Regions from separate parts of the Homo sapiens genome. Here regions 1, 2 and 3 are each linked to region 4. The links are contacts of gene promoters, found by promoter capture Hi-C in blood cells and fetal thymus (Javierre and others, 2016). All regions are on one chromosome and are shown on one strand. Each heading gives the region's core, a stretch centred on a gene start or on the middle of the fragment in contact. The rest is flanking DNA. Distances are from core to core; before and after follow the strand shown. Region 1 holds the start of PATJ (PATJ crumbs cell polarity complex component). Region 2 has its middle 120 kb from the start of NFIA-AS2. Region 3 has its middle 140 kb from the start of TM2D1. Region 4 holds the start of NFIA-AS1 (NFIA antisense RNA 1).

The links. Contacts are between HindIII fragments. The CHiCAGO score rates a contact against its expected background, and 5 or more counts as called.
Region 1: the fragment with the promoter of PATJ here is called in contact with the fragment with the promoter of NFIA-AS1 in region 4 in 9 of 17 cell types (M1 macrophages, monocytes, M0 macrophages and 6 more); the score reaches 11.8 in M1 macrophages.
Region 2: a fragment that was not itself captured here is called in contact with the fragment with the promoter of NFIA-AS1 in region 4 in 1 of 17 cell types (monocytes); the score reaches 5.6 in monocytes.
Region 3: a contact is called between a fragment that was not itself captured here and the fragment with the promoter of NFIA-AS1 in region 4, in 1 of 17 cell types (M2 macrophages). The highest score is 5.4, in M2 macrophages.

The regions. Positions count from the first base shown.
Region 1 is chr1:61,741,230-61,744,315 of GRCh38, forward strand. PATJ (PATJ crumbs cell polarity complex component) reads left to right here and starts at 1,251. Exons shown (of 44, transcript NM_001350145.3): 1 at 1,251-1,326. It overlaps PATJ-DT (PATJ divergent transcript), which reads right to left and starts at 1,555. Exons shown (of 1, transcript NR_185910.1): 1 at 769-1,555. RefSeq lists a silencer at 1,003-1,712. The HindIII fragment of the contact is 6,850 bases long and covers 1-2,922 here.
Region 2 is chr1:60,851,015-60,854,350 of GRCh38, forward strand. No RefSeq gene overlaps it. Among named protein-coding and RNA genes, the nearest start is that of NFIA-AS2, 120 kb to the right of the region's middle. The HindIII fragment of the contact is 4,630 bases long and covers 1-3,336 here.
Region 3 is chr1:61,585,063-61,588,322 of GRCh38, forward strand. No RefSeq gene overlaps it. Among named protein-coding and RNA genes, the nearest start is that of TM2D1, 140 kb to the right of the region's middle. RefSeq lists an enhancer at 2,699-3,260. The HindIII fragment of the contact is 3,726 bases long and covers 1-3,206 here.
Region 4 is chr1:61,251,726-61,255,341 of GRCh38, forward strand. It overlaps NFIA-AS1 (NFIA antisense RNA 1), which reads right to left and starts at 1,793. Exons shown (of 4, transcript NR_104180.1): 1 at 1,686-1,793. The region is part of intron 2 of NFIA (nuclear factor I A); the gene reads left to right. The HindIII fragment of the contact is 2,782 bases long and covers 1,390-3,616 here.

The sequences.
Region 1 (3,086 bases), core at 1-2,500, 490 kb after region 4:
GTCTCTCTCTGTCACCCAGGCTGGAGTGCAGTGGCAGGATCTTGGCTCACTGCAACCTCTGCCTCCTGGGTTCAAGTGATTCTCCTGCCTCAGCCTCCTGCGTAGAGGGGACTACGCATCCACCACACCCGGCTAATTTTTGTATTTGTAGTAGAGACGGGGTTTCATCATATTGGTCAGGCTGGTCTCGAACTCCTGACCTCGGGTGATCCACCCGCCTCGGCCTTCCAAAGTACTGGGATTACAAGCGTGAGCCACCGCGCCCCGCCTGAAAGTCTTTATGTTGTAGTTGTTTTGTATCTATTCCTCATCTTCCTGGGGACAGGGATACCATTTTACACATCTTCCCACAATCAATCACAGTGTTTAACAATTACTGTATGTACTCTATGAATAAGATACCTGAAGATTGATTCTCTTTATCGTTAATGTGTGGACTGTATCAGGCAAAGTAAAACCCCTATCATCAAAAGCCTAAAGTTATTAAAGGGAGTGGAAGAAGGCTATCGGGACATATTTTTCTCGAAGGTGTGACATCACAAATAAAAGAAAATTAACGTATAGTGAAATCATCACTGTAGTTAGAGTCAAAATGCCTTGCCTGTGTTCCAAACTTTGGGCCAGTCAACCTACAGGGTGCACGGTTTCCTCATTAGTTTCTTCAGAGAGTAAATGAGACATTGCATAAGCTAGCACCTAGCATACAGCAGGCAAATACTGCTGGATTTCTTTCTTCCACTAAATGAGAAGAAAATAATGACTCCCACATTTACACGTTTTAGAATATTTTATTTTGCGTCAGCGAATAGAGAAAACAAAGGAGGGATGAGAGAACAGGAAAGGAAAGGGGCAAAAAGACAAAGTGTTAAGCGGATTGACCCAACGCTTTCATCGATATCCTCCTCAATTTCCTTGATCTTGGGTCTCGCTCTACACGCAGGCCTCCAACCACACCGGTCTGTCCGGATCTCCCTCCCCGTCAGTGGCGGCTGTCCCCACCACGCGCGGTCTGATCCGCCACCCCGCCCCCACAGCCCACTTTTCCCAGGCCCTTGGCCATCCCGCGCCCGGTAGGAATTCACCTGCACGTAAACAGCCAGGGCAACCGTCCTCCCTCCTTGGAGCCCGCCTCCCGCGGCCCCGGGCTCCCTCCCCCGCCCCCTGCGCCACCCCGGTGCCCCGCCCCGGGCGGGGAGAGTCGGGGCGAGGGGAGGGCCTGCCAGGTGAGGCGCGGTCACCCTGGGCCTCTCACTTCCGCCCAGGTGAGGCAGGGCCGACACCGAGCCCGCCCGACCCGGGCTCCCACCTGCTCCTCCAGCGCACCAGGTAAAGCGTGAGGTCCCGGCTGTGCAGTGCGCGCTCGCCCCTGGGTGTCCCCGCGCCTGGAGGCCGGCCGGGGGCAGCTCCCTCGGGGCTTCCCGGGCCTGCCTGCCCTGCCCCCGCGCTCTCCCCGCCCGCCCGCCTGGAGTGGGTGGGAGCCGGAGGTGGAGGGCGCCGCCGGGCGCTCAGAGGGGCCGCGGCGAGGATGGGGCGCCCGCGGCGTGCGTCCGCGCTGACCCGGGAGGCGGGGCGGGGGCGCCGTCCTCCTGCGTCGGGCCCGGGTGACCCCACGGTGGTCCCCGCCCCGCCGCGCAGGGCTCGCCGAGGCCGCGGGCAGGGAGGGGCGCCGCCCCGCCTCCCCAGGCCTTTCGGGCCTCGAATCTCGGCCCACTGGTATTCGGGGGTGGCACGGATCCTATTTTGCGCCCAGATCGGTGCCCCTGTTTCGCTCCCAGAGCTGGGCGGAGTCTTTCCCTCCATCGGTGGCCGTGGAAGGAGGGAACGGGGTGAGGGGACAAAGAGGAGGGGGTGCTCAGAGCCGGGCTGAGGGGGCGACTTGGGCCCGGCCGCGTCGCGGCGCCTGGTCATCCCGTAGCGGAGGTTCCCAAGCCAGCGGTCAGGCCCTGGGCTCTGCCAGCCTTGCTGCGTAGATGGGGAGGTTCTGTCGGAAAGTGCTTCCAGCCTTAGGGGAAATTCCTGGACTCCTGCTTTTAAATCAAGCTCAGGAAAGCATTTTCAGATCACTCCCACTCTCCAAAGCGCCCCAGCCGTCCCGCACGCAGGCCGAATTAAGTGAACACCCCTTCACTTGGCACTTTGTCATATTTCCAAGTGGCTCTTGTCACTTTGAATTCCAGTTGGTTGTTTACTGGCTTGCCTCTGCCATTTAGAGGGTGCCCCTTTCAGGGCCTTATTTTTCGACTGCATTTAGGGTCTGGCTATTGGTAGGTGCGCGACAAGTGTTTCTTAAAGGAAGGCAGAAGCCTTTGGAAACCCAGAAGGACAATGTCGGTTCCACTGAGGATGATACTACCACATTCTGGGCTAAATTCCTATTGGCTGCAAATTAATTTGCACACATCTATTTGAAAGGAGTGGAGGCAGGGGCAGCGGTTAAAAACTTAAATCTGTTTGCAGCATTAGAAAATGTTAGGTGAGATTGAGCCTTTTAGCTAAAGTGAGCTTTGATGTTTTTAGGGCCCCTAATGGCCTTTAAGATGTTAACAATAACAACAACAACAAAACACTCCAAATGTGTTGAATTTATTTGGGAATGAGAAATGAGCGTTATAGCCCGAGGTGCACAGGCCTGGCAAGCCATATATGCATGGAAGAGGGGAGGGTAAAAGGAAACTTTTATTGGCAAAGTAAGTGCAGATAAGCTGCGTGAAAACAGAGTTTATTGGTTTTGCAGACTGAAAGCCAGAGTTGGCCATTGTTGAAGATGCCATTACTGGGCAGGTGTTATGGAGAGCATCTTATCAGGCCTGGCAACCTGCCTCATGCCTGTTATCTCAGCTACTTAGGAGGCTTAGGCAGGAGGATCGCTTGAGGCCAAGAGTTGGAGACCAGCCTGAGCAACATGGCTGTCTTTACAGAAAAAGCTTTTTAAATAGTCAGGTGTGTCGGGAGGTTGAGGCAGGGGAATTGCTTGAGCCCAGGAGATGGAGGCTGTGGTGAGTGGTGTTTGCACCACTACACTCCAGCCTGGGTGACAGAGCAAGAACCCTGTCTCAAAAAAAAAAAAAAAAAAAAAAGGAAAAAAG
Region 2 (3,336 bases), core at 565-3,064, 400 kb before region 4:
TTAATCATATACTTCTGGACAACCAAGGGACCAAAGAAGCAATTAAAAGGAAAACTAGAACATATCTTAAGACAAATAAAAACAAAACCACAACACACCAAAACTTATGCAAATAAGCAAAAGTCATACTAAGAAGAAAGTTTGTGGTGATAAATGCCTACATTAAAAAAGAAGAAAGATCTCAAATAAATAACCTAACTTTATATCTTAAGGAACTATAAGAACTATAAGGAACAATAAAAGCAAACTAAAACCAAAGATAGCAGAAATGAAGGAAAAAACAAAGATTATAACAGAAATAACAGAAATAGAGAATAGTAAACAACAGAAAGAAATCAATGAAACTGAGAGTTGGCTTTTTAAGAGATCAACAAAAATGACAAACCTTTAGCTATACTAAGAAAAAAAGAGGGAGACCTAAATAAAATCAAAAATGAAAGAGGAAATATTACAATTGATGCTACATCAATAACAATAATTGTAAGATATAACTAACAAAAATTATATGCCAACAAATTATATGCCTGGAAGAAATGGATATTCCTGAAACATTTAACCTACCAAGTTTGAATGCTGAAGAAATAAAAAGAACAAACCTAAACTAGTAAGAACAAACCTATAACTAGTAAGAAAATTGGATCGGTAATTAAAAACCTCAAAGTGGATGGGGTTAGGAAAAAATGGGGAGTTGCTGATCAATGGTCATAGAGTTTCAGTCATGCAAGATGAAAAAGTTCTAGAGATCTGCTGTACAACAATGTGTATATAGTTCACAATACTATGCTGTACACTTAAAAATGGTTAATAAGGTAGATTTTATGTTTTTCAACACAATAAAAAATAAATTTTTAAAGAGAGATATAAACAATAGCTACAATCTAAAAGCAGTTAGTCATCTATACTAATCTAGATCATCCATTCCAACGGTTTTTCAAACTTTAACTAACAGAGGAATAATTTTTCACTTAAAATTTTCCAGTAAACCCAATAACAAAACCATAAAAGTAGAACTGTGTGTGTTGAGTTGTGTTGGGTGGGAGGGAACCAGAGCTCCTCATTTTATAGACACAGAAACTGAGGCCCTGGGAGGAAAATGGATTCACCCCGAAGCACACAGTGAGTTAATGGCATGGCCCTGGCTACAATCCACATCTCCTGATTCCCAGCTCAGTGTTCTTTGCATTTTCATTAAAGTTCTTGTGCCTAATCTGGAAAACACCCAGATAACCATAAAAGGAAACAGATGAAGGTACCCACAAATGAGCTATGGAAGGAGAGGGAGTTTTTAAGCCTAATCACCAGCCAATAGATTTCCAGTTTCAATGGTTTTTTAATATCAAAGTTGTTTTCATTATTTATTAATGAACTTTTGTTAACATTGTTTATTATTTATTAACATTAATTAAACGAACATTTGAAATTGCACAGAAACAAAAAAGGAGAAAAAATTTATAATCCTACCAATTATATAAACAACTCTTAACACTGGAATATGTCTTCTGTCTCTTAAAGAACAGATTGTTGGGTTTTCACCAAATTGTGCTCATTCTGTATGTTCAATTTTGTCTCATGCTTTTTTCACAATATTATAGCATAAGCATTTTCCATTTGTAAATAACATTTTCTTTCATGACTACATAATATGCTCTGAAGTAGTCATGCCATGCAGAAGATTTTTTTCTAAATTTGTTCACCACTTCAAATAATACTAAAATGAACATATATCCGTGTATATAATGGTTGAACAATGTGTATGGTAGTATACTAGAGGTAGAATTGAGTTTAAGAATTTGAAGATTTTTGGCTGGGCGCAGTGGCTCACGCCTGTAATCCCAGCACTTTGGGAGGCTGAGATGGGTGGATCATGAGGTCAGGAGATTGAGACCATCCTGGCTAACACTGTGAAACCCCATATCTACTAAAATAATACAAAAAATTAGCCAGGTGTGGTGGCGCATGCCTGTAATCCCAGCTACTCGGGAGGCTGAGACAGCAGAATCACTTGAACCCGGGAGGCGGAGGTTGCAGGGAGCCAAGATCGCACCACTGTACTCCAGCCTGGGCGACAGAGCAAGACTTCGTCTCAAAAAAAAAGAATTTGAAGAATTTGAAGAGTTTTAAGTCTTTTGGTATGTAGCATCAAATCACATATATTTTATTTATGCATAATTACATAAACATCATTTAAAATTCTGGAAATAGAAATATAGATAAAATAATATTTGCCATTATTTCTTTGACCTAGAGGCAGATACCTATTGAATATCTTGGTATAGTTCTTCCCCATCTTTTTTGAAAATAAATACATATGCGCACACAATTACCAAATTGAAACTATTGTGTATGAGTGTGTAATAGTTTGATTTTTTATTACCATGTCTATAAATAATACTTAGAGACCAAACAGATTTTATTAATTACAACATATTATCCCAATCACACAGCCAAACATACTCCCATTTTTCCACCCCTAGTATAGCCACATCCACGTGCCCATACCCAAGTAACAGAGAGATTACATACAAGACCACTCCTAATAAGACAACTCTCAAGACACAATCTTGGTTGTAGTTCTCACTGGCTTTCTTCTGAGAAACTGACTCAAGAGTGAATATAGGCAGTTGCAATAGCATTTTTCTAACTGGAAACTTCTACAGAGCTCAACTCAGAATGATACGCCACTGTGCCAGCCACCAGGAACAGTTTTGGGCCCTGAAATATGAATCTCTGCTTTTCATCAGATGTTTCCAAAAGCAGAGTGGTTATGACAGAAACTTTGGCATTAGACTCTCCTGGGTTCCAGCCATGACTGTACCTCCTATTGTCTGTGCAACTTGAATTAACTTTACCCCTCTAAGCCTCAGTCTCTCCATCTATAAAAATGAATGACAGTAGCTGCTTCATAGGTTTGAAGTGATGATCAGATGAGACAATGCATGTAAAGTACTCAGCATTGTGTCATTGCAGGCACTTAATTTTAACTGTAATTATTATTTTGAGGAGTTCTGGCAGCAGCTTTCGACTCTCGCTCTCACAAATATGACTTTCTCTTTCCTCATTGATCTATTAACAGAAAATATTTTTTGACTGATAATTCCCAAAGCAGTCATTATGGCAATGAACACAGCAGTTCAAAATGTTATCATATTTATCTTATCACAAATGTTATTAATAGCTCAAAGCAGTTGAAATTGTCATTAACTATTTTTAATAAATAAGTATATTTCGGCACTTAATATTCCCAGGAGCTTTATATAACAATATTTTCCTCAATCTTCACAAGGCTGTGAAGTATTATTATTACCATTTTGCAAATGAGCAAACTGACATGGACAC
Region 3 (3,260 bases), core at 94-2,593, 330 kb after region 4:
AAGACTTAATGTGCTAATTTTATAAAACACCTAGCACAATGCCTGGCACAGAGTAAGCATTCGATAAATATGCGATCCCTTTCCCTCCACACAGTTGCACAGTTGCCTCCCTCGCTGGACTGTCATATGCATATATGCATCTTTGTGTCCCCAGCTACTAGTACAGTACCTGGCAAAGAGTGCTAAAGTACCTGGGAAAGAGACAGGTAAACTCTGTCTACATACAGTGCTGATTCATTACTCTGGGCTCAGAAATACTTCTTAGGTTAAATAAAACAAGTATATATGCACATGCATAAATCCATTGTAGTGTCAAGTCAGCGTGTGCTTTCTCAGGGCTGGTCATCCCATGCACATAAAGAAGCGCCAACTCTCTGGCAAGGCATCCTGGTGGGCCACTCTCTCAGTCTGAAAGCTGCCTTGATTTGTTTACTTCAACAAGGTTTCATCTTTCTGCCATGTTTTCTTTTTCATTCTGGTGCGCTGTGTGTCCCATTACCTTAACAAGTGATAGTGCTTGAGTTGCCACTAAGGGTCCGAAGGAAAAGTGTTGTGCTGGATGCCAGTGTTCATGGATTGTGGCAGCACAAGGCAAGTTCAGTCTAGGAAACAGGTAACAAAGCTCACGAGGCTGTTAGGGAGGTCTGATTTTTACGAAGGGCTTCGTGTCCATCACTGAAGCCTGGAGGATTGACTAGTAATTGTATGAATGGGATCTGGAAGGAACTATGGTCTGAGGCTTGTCATGACTTCAGGGGTTGGCACCGTACAAAGCCCCATAAGGATCACGCAAAGGCACCCAACCGTGCTAATTCACCCTTTCCGGGAACTCAGCTCCCCCGCCCAGTATTGCTTGCCAGGGTGTGCCCACAGGCACTCCCTGCATGTGGCTGCAGGAACCAACTATGAAATCCACCTATGTGTTTTCTAGTGAATCTGGCCCTGATTTTAGCAGACAGCACTAGCTGTCATCTGGTTTTTATTAAATTCCATAAGTAAGAGAGTAATTCACACTCTAAAATGTTACACTATGTAAATAGTGAGACTGATTGAAAACTATTTTGTTATTTTCTGCTTTTCTCTATTTTGTGAATTTTCTTTAATGAGCATTGAGTACTATTTTATATATATATGTTTACATATATGTTTATATATATGTTTATATATATATATATATGTTTTAATTCAAAGGATAATTCATGGCAGAAACAGAAGTATAGGGACAGAAATTTCCATTACCGGAGGCTTTGAGAACCATATTCCTGCAGCTCTAATGAACAGAAAGTCATTTCACTGGGATGTTTTCCTCCATTTTCTGTGAATTTGAGTGAGCTTCCTTCCAAGAATGCAATTGAAGACTGGGACATACATATTGTAACCAGTAGCATGAGTTATTGATTGAATTCCCTGGCACTTCCTTTAGTTTGAATTCTAGGTAGAGTTCTTGGAAAGTGATGGCTTTTCGAGAGCTGGGCTTCCCTAGCATGGAATGACAAGTCACATAACAGCTCTTTGTCCAGTCATATACTGAGCATCACCTGCGTATCAGGCACTGTGCTGGGCACCAAAGATGGAAAGATAATTCGTGTCTTCACTGTAGTAAGGTAGATAGGGGCCAGGCATGGTGGCTCACACCTGTAATCCCGGCACTTTGGGAGGCCGAGGCAGGCGGATCACCTGAGGTCAGGAGTTCAAGACCTGCCTGGCCAATGTGATGAATCCCCGCCTCTACTAAAAATACAAAAATTAGCTAGGCATGGTGGCGCGTGCCTGTAATCCCAGCTACTCAGGAGGCTGAGGCGAGAGAATCACTTGAACCTGGGAGGCAGATGTTGCAATGAGCCAAGATCATGCCATTGCACTCCAGTCTGCGTGACAAGAACGAAACTCAGTCTCAAAAATAATAATAATAAACAAGAAAAAAATAAGAAAGGTAGATAGGAACACAACATAGCTGTACTAGGGGTGAGTTATGTACAAGAGGGTGTGGGTGAGTGGCCAGAGCAGGTTTCACAGAGGCCAGGACATGTCAACAGTCTTCACTTTAGAGTAGGAATTTGCTAAGAAGACCAGAAGTCTGGTTGGCTGGCAAAGAGATGGGTCAGGGTAAGGGGAGTCCAGCAGAAGGAAAAGTATGCATACAAGCATGGAAGCATGAACTGGCTGGCCTGTGGGATCGTCATGACCCCAGGATCAAACTCATATAAGTTTCTCCAAGACATAACAGTTCTTGTCTCAAGTAAGACACTAGGAGAGTAGGCCACTAGGAGCCCCAATTCCATCAAACACCTCCTAGCCCTGTCATGCACCCAGCATAAGCACAGGGGATGATACAAGAAAACAGTGTGATATCACCATCCCAAGTTGCTGCGGATCAGAGAGCTGTCTTACTGTGATGCTTAATTTTTGGTGAACTTACAGAAAAAAATTCAAAAAGTCTGAGGCTGCCCATTAGGAATGAGAAATTGCATATGAGGGTTAGCATGCTAATTATGTTTTGTGTAACCTACTGGACACACTGGGATGGCTTTTCCTGAAAGAAATTATCTGAGTCCTACCTTACCACCTAGACAAACGGGAAAGGAAAGGGGGTTGATTCCACCAACAGTGTGTGCTTGTGACTTAGGCGGCTTTCCAGTCGAAGAAATACAAATAATTGTAAGGCAATTTTAATCTTTACTGAACTCTCTTGAAGCCTATCAAACGGAATCCCAAATGCACAGCAAAACATCTTAAAATTGCCTTTCCCTATCTCTCTCAAGTCATATATATCACACGTTTATGGCTCTCTCCTCCTAATTTTTTTCCTCCCTCTTTCCATATTCCTCCCAAACTCTCTTAAGCTCAACTACAAGAACACTTGTCTTTTCACCCCAGCCCCATTCCCCGCTTTCTGGATTTATTCCTCTGGTGGCTAGTAGATCTCTCTCCTTTCTAAAGTAAATCAATTTCACATTTCTGCCCCCCTACACCAATCAACACCACATTATTTTTATATTTGTGGCAGAGGTTTAATAGGTAGAACAAGGGGATGCTTTGCAGAGGCTAGAACACTCAAGAGAAAGATTTGTTTTCTTTGTCATTTGAACAGCAAGCATATATAAACCATGCTGGTAAAGTTTCTTTCTGGTGGCTCCCATATTTTAGGTTACTGGCCACCCTAAAAACCTAAGCCCTAAAAACCTGTTACCTTCCCATGTAACAGAAGCTTAATGTAAATGACTTTCATAAGCCTGTATTCCTTTAACTTATTTTTTTCT
Region 4 (3,616 bases), core at 543-3,042:
TGATTTTTTGTATTAACACAGTGCCTCTAATTTTAAAAACTGCTTCAGCAATCATGTATTTAATGAAAACAGAAGTAACGATACAAAATAACAAAAATATAAATAGAGTTCAGAATTTGAAAATACTGTATTAGGAGGTAAGCTGACTATTTTTCGTGTTCTTTAAATATATTTAGATCAACTTGAATATTAAGCCTCCTACAGCAGGTAGATAGAGGTATCAATTCAGTTACCATTTAAAATACAGTAACTCCAATGAGGAGTTTCTTATAATTATTTCTAATTACTTTTTGATATTAGAAATTAGAGCTATACCAGAATGCTGGGAAAGATGTCTTTTTCAACATTGTATCACAGCATCAAGCATTATGCATCAAACATCAATTCCTACTCACAATATCCATTCAATGTATATTTGGATTATATTTTCTTTGGATAGACCCTCATAGTAGAAACTCTGTATTAACCAGCTTGCAAGATGAACCAAGACTTTTTGTTTTCTTTGTAATATACTGATTCCTTTGGCATGTTGAATTTTCATGGCCAACAGTTACCTACTACCACATCCTAGCACTATTGTTTTTACCAGTTGTGTGCTTACCACGTCAGTTGTGTTATTCCGGACCTGTTTATACTAGTCTTATTTGTATCACCATTGTGTAATTTAATTAAATTTATGTGAACCAATGGCATGCAAGTTCAAAATGGAAAAGTTTTATTTCTATGAAACTAACCCAGTGCCTTGGAAAGAATCAGTAAAGGCAAGCTACAAAAATTTCTGTCAGATTACATGTCAGTGAGATAACTACAGAAGATGAGAGAAGGTTGTAAAAATAAGAGTTTTGTTAGATTATTTTAGAAATATCTTTAAATTCTCCCACTACTTAAAGTAAATGGAACTGGAAATCTTTTATGATGCATTATAGATACGCATTATATAAGAAAGATGCTGTGGAGCTCCAATTATTAACAGACATTATTAAATTTAAATTTTTGCCTCTGCATAAAAAGATTGGCCAAAGAATGTACATACACATGCTCAAAGTTAAAATGTTTAAGGTGCATATGTCTCATTAATGAGTATCTTCTTCATCCATTTTTTCAAATTAACCAATCAACAACTGGCCCTAACAGTACTGGATAAGGTAACTTCTATTCTATTTTGTATTCCTACTCTTTACAGAGTTTTAGAGATGTTTTGTTTCCTACCTACCAAGGGAAAAAAAGGGAATTGGCAGATAGAGTTTATATCTTGGGATGAGATGTGTAAAGGGCCAGGACCTGAAATTACGTGAAGGTTGATATTCTGGGATTGGTAGTTTTGAAGTTCCATAAAGAAGTTCAGTCCAGCCATGTTCCAAATGCTCTGAGTATAGGCACTGGCTGGTAAGCTTAGTGGAGTGTTATACAACATGGAAGTCTAACTGGCAGTTCAATGTCCCAAAAGTTGGACAGAACCAAGAAATAGAGAACATAAGCAGATGACAGTAATCCAGGCAGAAGGTTAGTGTCAGAGAAGTCTGTCAGTGGGTCATAGGGCTCCACGTGCTAGCCTGGGTTTCCGTGCCAGAATTTTGTTCTTGGGAGGCAGGTAGGGAAAAGCAAGTCAACATCTCCAGTTCCAGATGAGCTAGGGCACTTGACCAAATACAGGTACAGAAGTTAGTCCTTGAGGTAGAGCTTACCTGTTGGAGAACATGGCAGAAATCATTGTACCAAAATTGGAGCACAGGTCAGAGGCTAAAGCATGGCTTACTGCTGTGGCTCATGGTGAACTTGAGCTTCTCATGGCCCCTCCTATCTCCTGAGGATGGCTGAGCTCACAGATGGGGACTGTTATGTAATCAGAGGTCAAGTGGTTTAGCTGGGGTGGCAGAGAGCCAGGTGAAGACTGAAAGTGTTCAAATAAGGAAGAGAACAGAATTGCTTTATGTCTGCCTTCATGAAGACAAACCCTAATAGCCAAAGGACTGAAAGTTTGCCCAAAGAGACCTCAATTTTTGAAAGGAAAATGCATCTTCTCCTTATGTTAGAATGACCACGTCTAAATAAAATAAACTCTTTTGCCTTTTGTTGTTACTTGTCTTGGTATCTACCATTGTTTGACACTAAAAAAAAATAAAGCAGTGACTAATTATTGGCTAATTTAATCTGTCATGATGGCATTTGTAATTCAGGTACATCCTTCATTAAAGCAAGTATAGGCATTATTATTTTTAAAACTTTTTTTTTCTATTTGGATTTCTTCTATTTTGTTTGATTATTTATTTTGTTGTTACTGGTGGTGGTGGTGTTTTACAGTGAGACATACTGGTTAGCTCAGCTAAGGTGTTTGAGTAAGACTTCATAAACATAAAGTACTTTGTGTGGGTTTGTTTTGTGTGTTCCATCTTACGTCATTTGTGGCACTGAAAATGAGATTGCAATTCCCAGAGTACTGGGATAGTTCATTCAGAGGTTAGCCCACCTAAGTTTATAGCAGTTGTCTGTAATAGAATTGTAACTAATTTCCACTGTTGTTTTTGGAGAAAACTGTAGACTATAATTATGTGTTAGCACTTTTTAAACAGCTCCCTGCATTGTCATATCATTTTAAATGGGCTCTGTTTTAAAATGACCTTTCATGTTTTGATTGCAAAAATATAGCTTACACAGGTCTGTAGTTAGCAAAATACAAGGATCCAGTAAATGATAGAGCATTGACACAACTCTAGAAGCATGTGTTAAACATCACTGGCACTGCCCTAGGTTTAAAGGGGAAGAAATAGGGAAGTAGAAATTCACTGTTCTTCAACACTCCTTCTGTTGGATAGGCAAGATTAGTACATAGAACAGTTATGGAGCCATGTGAAAAAAAATAGTAGTTATACAAATGTAAAATGCTACACATGAAGTATATTGCATTACCTTTTTGTGGCCTATGGAAAGAAGTCTCAGAGCACAGTAAGATTCAAGTACCATCTCCCAGAATTGGGGTCAGCAACACCATTTTATATTTTGGCAAATGCTACCCACTGTCTCCCAAACGGCAGATATCTGCATATAGTTAGTCATGTGGACACACCCTTCCTCTGCTACATTGCATTGCCATATTAGTAGTAGAATTTTAGTGTTGATTTAAAAGACAGTCTGCCTTAAAGCAGATTGCATAGTTTGCACACTGTGAATTGTAATTAAAGTGTAAGGGGGGCTTATTATGTCAACAACTGGCATGAGAACCCCCGAGCAGCAGGTGACCCTGACCATGTGACGTTTGTGACAGCTAGGATCCCCTTTTCACTGGCTTAGCGATCTGAAAGTCCAAATTGAAAGAAGCCCAGAGGCTGTATATTTCATTAGATCCCAGGGGAAGTACAGGATACAGCTTCCTTCTGTTTTCCTGGGAGGTCGCCAGAAAGTTTGTAGAGCTCTGTTTCTGTCAGAGACTCAAAAGAGAAAAGAAAAAGCACACACAAAACAAAACAAAACACCATACACACCACAAAACCATCCACCAATCACCCCCAGGACCATAAATTTGACATTTCCCACAGTCTGAGACCACAGTGTTGCTGTGTCAGCAATACGCTCCTTGTTTGAATTGTCTGAAAGGAAGGCTCAGTGTTCTAGCTTTTAA